2 separate regions of the Homo sapiens genome follow, and region 1 is linked to region 2. Evidence: promoter capture Hi-C in human tissues and cell types (Jung and others, 2019). All regions are on one chromosome and are shown on one strand. The core of a region is centred on a gene start or on the middle of the fragment in contact, and the rest is flanking DNA. Distances in the headings are between cores, read along the strand shown. Region 1 overlaps KCNK9 (potassium two pore domain channel subfamily K member 9). Region 2 holds the start of KCNK9 (potassium two pore domain channel subfamily K member 9).

Region 1 (2,797 bases), core at 190-2,689, 44 kb before region 2:
CATTCTGGTGCCCCTAACTAGCTGTGTGCCCTTGGGTGGGTTGCTGAACCTCTCTGAGCTTAACTTCTCATGGGTCTGGCTAGAAAACCACCACCACTTGAGAGAATTTAGAACAGAGGGAATTCAATCCAGAACATTAGTCACAGAGGTGATGAGGAGAGCACAGGAAGCTGCTTCCACCCTTAGGCAGTGGGAGAAGGCAGGTCAGGATCAGGTCTCCCGGCCAGAGCAGGAGCCGGGGAGGACCTGTGGCAGCTGCCAGGGACACCACAGTGAACCCTCTCTGCCTGTGGAGCTTCTCATCATCCTGCCCTGTGAGCTTCCGGCACTGGCTCCCTGAACTAAAACCCCCCAGAGCCAAAACCCCCCAGAGCCAGAGAGCAATAGCGCCTGGGAAACTGAGCTTCCCACCATACACTGCAGAAGTGGGGGATGGATGGATCTGAGCATAGGGCGTTGACTGGGACACTCCCTTTCCCCATATGCAGAATGGAGATCATTGCTAAGCTGCACCGCATGGTCACTACTAACAAGGCCCCATTTTATTCATAAAAGCTTTGCATGAATTAACTTCCTGTCTCCTCACAGAGGAGGGACGTTATCACCCTGGCGGGTGGGGAGGCCTCTCCAGGACTCGCCTCTATCCCAGCGGTCCCCACCCACATCACCCCCATCCAGGCAGAGAACATGGCTGGCCCCTGCTCCCAGGATTCTCCCTGTCCAACAGCAGGTCTCCCCCACAGGACAGGCAGAGGAGATGACATGGTAGGGTGGGCAGATATATGGACAATGGGCTATGGTTTCCTGTTGGGTTTAGAATAAAATCTCAAGTCCTTGGTTGTATCAGGTCAGGGTCATGGCATGAAACAGGTCATGGCATCCACTCAGATGGATCAAATCAGGGCAAAGACCCTTGTCTTCAATGAAGAGAGAGTTTGCAGAGGCAAGGAGAGGTTGAGGGCACCAAGTAGGGCAGTAAGACACAAGGGGCTAGCAGGGGGCAGCTATTACCACCCACAGGCCTGAAGGGCTGAGAGGAGCCCAGTGAGCACTGCAGCCAGGGGCAGGGACCACCTAGTGGATGCTGTAAGTCATGGGGGGACAACCACTGCTGGAAAAGCTGAGCAGGGAAGGCACACCCATCCCAAAGCCCCATGGCTGGACCCACCTGGAGGCCAGCCCCCAGCTCTTTCCTCCAGAACACCCCACAATGTTGCTGAACACAAGGAAACCAGATGCGGGCCTCAGGCTACACGGGTCACGCCTGACTTCCCTGCTGCCCAGCAAGCCCCTAGCCACTGGTACCCTTTTCCTTTTCCGCAGCTCCCCCTCAATCCAAGCCTCACTACCTCCACTGTACAAAAGATACCACGGAGGGGAGAGCACAACCCCTGCCTTCTGGAATTCAGCCACACCCACCAAGAAACAAGAACTGGGTCCTGGATGCTATTCTCACAAACCAGATGTGTCCTCAGGGACTAGCTCTGTGAAACTGGCAGACTCCAGAGCCCCAGCTTTGCAGCTGAGAGGCCTGGACTTCCCCACGGTCACACTGCCTCCAAGTGCAGGGCCAGTGTCCAGGAAGCGAGGTGGCTCTCCTTCTGGGCTGTTCCCTGCCCATGTCCTGAGTCTGCCACTGCCCTTGGACCTGGCCTCTACTCCAGAGTCCACCTGCCTCAGGCACTGTCCGAGGTGCTGACCACTGCTGTGGATGAGGGTACACGGGAAGGACTAAGGTTTGCTGAGGCAGTTGTGGAAGGGGCAGCCCAGGAAAGCTCCCAGAAGGTCTGTGATTAGAGGTGAGTGTGAAGCAAAAATTCAAGTTTTGGGGGAAGACAAGTTAGCCAGAAAGGCATTCTAGGAGGAAGAAACAGCATGTATCAAGCCGCTGAGTCTTCGGGGCTTTGTGAGAGTCAAATGAATTCATAGGCAAGAAACCGCTCTGGGACCTAAACACCTGCGTGGATACGACCCTGACTCTTGGCCGCTGTCAGGGACTTGCTAAAGGTCCCTCACTTGCTAGGGGTGGCTCCAGGCTGGAGTCCTGACCCCCTGAGACCTGACCCAAGGCTTTCCCTATGCACTACAAGAGCTGCCTTCAAATATTTGAAACAAAGCTCATGCCTAGGACTGAGGGTTCAGGCTGAGTTTCCCCTCTTGTCTTTGTCCTTTGCCTCAGACACATTGATTAAAAATAGAGAATACTCCTCTCCCCCTATCCTCCAGCAGCAGGTGTTAGACCCCTGGCCTCTCTCTGGCTTGGACCCTACCCCTGTATTGGTGTGGAAAGATCTCGAGGATTTTATTTTTGTTGTTGTTGTTGAGACGGAGTCTCGCTCTGTCACCCAGGCTGGAGTGCAATGGCACAATCTCGGCTCACTGCAAGCTCCACCCCCCAGGTTCACGCCGTTCTCTTGCCTCAGCCACCCGAGTAGCTGGGACTACAGGAGCCCACCACCATGCCCAGCTAATTTTTTTTTTTTTTTTTTTGGTATTTTTAGTAGAGATGGGGTTTCACCATGTTAACCAGGATGGTCTCGATCTGACTTCATGATCCGCCTGCCTTGGCCTCCCAAAGTGCTGGGAATACGGGCGTGAGCCACTGCACCCGGCCTATTCTTACGAGATAAAGCAAGAGACAGAACAATGATCAAGTATACTGCCTTTTGTGCAAGAAAGGGGAGATAAGATAATATATATTTGTGTGTATACCAGAAACAATATATTGATTTTTAAAACAATCCCCTATTTGTGATAACAGGAAAAAGTGGGAGGGATGGAGATGGGATGGAAAGAA
Region 2 (2,971 bases), core at 102-2,601:
CAGGTCTCCAAGTATAACGTCCGGGAGTCCTCCCAGCCCCCAGCCTTAGAGGGGACACTGCCCTCGGGACCGACCAGAGACCCTGCTCTGTGAATAGCGCCCTTGGCAGTGGGGCTGGCGGGCATCCCTGCAGTTTACCAGCTGGACCCCCTCTCGTGACTGGGGCTCAAGTTCCCTGGTTTCTGGGCAATGTCTAGACTGGCCTTTCCCAGTGTCACAGCCTAGGGAGTGGGCAGGTTCTGCCCTGCCCCCACTCTCCACCTCTACTGAGAGCAATTGAGGGGCTGCCACCCCCAACGCAAGCACCAGAGAGCAAACTCTCTCCTCCCAGGGGCCTGGGAAGTCCAAGCTCCAGAACTGGAACTCAGGGGAAAAAAGGAGCCGGGCGGGGGGAAGAGAGATGAAATCTGAGCTCAGAGAAGCCTGGAGCGGGGCCCAGGGGCTACGGAGGGTCAGTGCCTCTCACGCCCCAGGCGCACTCCCCTGCCACCTGAGTCCCTCTAGGAGCCATGGGTGCCAGGCCAGCCCTCTCCAACTCCCAGAGAGGTAGTAAGTGTAAGGCTCAGAGCCCCGCGCAGCCCAGCCCGCGCCGGGGCGGTGGGTGGGTGGGTGTCTGCTATGGGATTATTCTTAGCGCTCCACTCTCTTCGCAAAAGTGGCGCCTCCGCCCTCCCGGCTCAGGCACACTCGCTCGGGGCTCGCACGCCCGGCCCAGACACCAGCGCGGTGGAGAGCACCGGGTGGGGTCCCCGAAGGGTGAGGCTCGGAGGCGCCGCGGAGGGGGGGCTCCCTAGAGAGGAGGGGGCGCTGCGGGAAGGCCCCCAAGGGAGGCTGCGTTTAACCCTCGACGCCCTGCACCCAGCCCGGCGCGGCGCGCTCAGCCGCCTCCCCGGACTCCTCCCGGGGCGCGGGAGCCCAGCGGCGCGCCCAGCCCTTACCTATGGTGGTGATGACCGTGATCGCAAAGTAGAAGGAGCCGGCGAATTTCCACTGGACGCCGGCGCGGTGCGGTTCCGACTGCAGGATCACCAGCTCCAGCTGCCGGTAGTCCTCGCTGCTGATGTTGTACTTCCCCTTGATCCGGATCTCCTCGGCTTTGAGTTTCTCCTCCTCGCGCATCTCGTGGTCCGACTCGAGGGCGTCGAACACGGCGGCGCCCACCAGCAGGTAGGTGAAGGTGCAGACGATGAGGGACAGAGTCCGCACGTTCTGCCTCTTCATGGCCGCCAGCAAGGAGCCGGCGCGGGGGGCATGTCCCGCAGGCTCACAGCCGCGCGCGTCCCACTGCAGCGCCCGGCGGCCGCCGCCGCCTCCTCCTCCGCCGCCGCCGCCGCCGCCTCCAAGTTGTAAGCGGCGGCGGCAGCAGCAGCAGCAGCAGCGGGGAGGCGGGGGGCGGGGAGGCTGGGGGGGGCCCCCTCCGCTGGGGCCGCCACAGCCACCGCCACCGCGAGGCGGCTGGCGGGGCAGGGGCGGCGCGGGCCCGGGCTCAGCCGAGAAGGCGGACAGGCACAGGAGGCTGCTCGAGCGCCGGGGCCAGGCGTCCGGGAACCCCGACACCCTGCGCCAGACCCGGCCGAAGCAGCCCGCCCCACTGCGCAGGGCCATGCAGGGCGGCCCCGCTGGGTACCGCGCGGGCCTTGCTGCCCTCCGCACCCCGCCCCCCGCTCCCGCGGGAAACGCAGGGACGGGAACCGGAGCCAGAAAGCGGCCGGAGGGCGGCCGCGGGGCCCGGTACCCCTGTGGGTCCAGCTCGCGGGTGGCGGTGCCCAGCAAGGAGCCTGCAGGTCCGCGCGCCCAGCGGAACCTGCTTCCCCTTTTACCCCTCCTCGCCCCCTCTCGGTGGTGGGGAGGAAAAGTTTGCGAAGTGGCGGTGTCTCTGGAGTCCCCTGCAAGCGGGGAGGGGGCCGAGCAGGTGCAGCGGGAGGGGCAGCCCGCTCCCCAAAGGTCCGCGCGCCCAGCGCCCACCCGGGCGCGCGGGTGCGCAGCGGGGTCCCCGCCGGGCGTCGGCCGGTGCGCGAAGTTTGCTCGGCTCAACCCCCAAGGCGCGGGAGCGGGGCGCGGCCCCAGGACGGCAGGGACCGCGATGGAGCGGCTTCGGGGGCGGCCGGGGGACGGCGCGGTGGCGGTCGGCCAGCCCGCTCCTCCGGGGGCGGCGGGCGCGGCGGCGGCGGCGGGAGGGGTCCCGCGGGCCTCGCGGAGCAGCGGGGCGGACGCGGGCGCATGAGCCGCGCGGGGGTCGGGGCCCTCCGGCGTCCGGGCGTCCCGGGAGGCGGCCGCCGCGCTGGTCTGCCCCGGGCGCTACGTGCGTGCGCGCCGTTGGGAGCCCGAATGTGTGTGTGCGCGTGTGTATGTGCGTGTGTGTGTGTGTGTGTGTGTGCGCTTGGCAGCCCCGCTCCGGCGGGAGGGCCTCGGGGAGCGGGGGCCGGGCTACGCCGAGGCCGGGCCTCCCTCCCTCCCTCCCTCCCGCAGCCTCCAGGGCGCGCCACCTCCCGCCTGGTCCCCAGCCAGCTGGCGAGGCTGCTGTGGCAGCTCCCGCTGCAGACCCAGCGCGGCGCAGGGCGCACGCGGAGGGAGCCCGGGAGGGGCGGCCTGAGCCGCCAGGGAGGGGGCGGGGGCGGAGCCGCCGGCGGGTTTTGGCGGGGGATGGGAGGATAAACGCGGCTTCTTGGGTCCTTCTAGCCCCGCTCCCCAAGAGCGCAAGCAGCCCTGGCGGGTGGAGAGTTTGAGGGACTCGGGGTTGGAGGAGGAAAACGGGATTCAGCCAGAGATGGCAGGCTGACAGCTTCAGGCAGATTGGGCAGAGAGTGGGGAGCAGAAGGGGAGGGGGCCATGGGCACACAGGAGAGCGGCAGCAGCGGTTCACGAAGTCTTCCCCACCCCCCACCCCCCACCTAGCCACCCGGCGCGGGAGCGTGTCATTGGCCAGGGACATGGCCTCGTGGAGTGGTGGGGTCCCGAGGGCTGCCTCGGC

The links. The method cuts DNA at HindIII sites, captures the fragments that hold promoters and counts their contacts. A contact is called where the count stands out against the background at its distance.
Region 1: a fragment that was not itself captured here is called in contact with the fragment with the promoter of KCNK9 in region 2 in 3 of the 25 tissues and cell types used here (dorsolateral prefrontal cortex, pancreas and spleen).

What each region holds. Positions count from the first base shown.
Region 1 is chr8:139,657,208-139,660,004 of GRCh38, forward strand. All of the region lies in intron 1 of KCNK9 (potassium two pore domain channel subfamily K member 9), which reads right to left. Among named protein-coding and RNA genes, the nearest start is that of KCNK9, 45 kb to the right of the region's middle. The HindIII fragment of the contact is 3,634 bases long and covers 1-2,797 here.
Region 2 is chr8:139,701,772-139,704,742 of GRCh38, forward strand. KCNK9 (potassium two pore domain channel subfamily K member 9) reads right to left here and starts at 1,352. Exons shown (of 2, transcript NM_001282534.2): 1 at 939-1,352. The coding sequence starts at 1,221. RefSeq lists a silencer at 1,075-1,369. The HindIII fragment of the contact is 18,854 bases long and covers 1-2,971 here.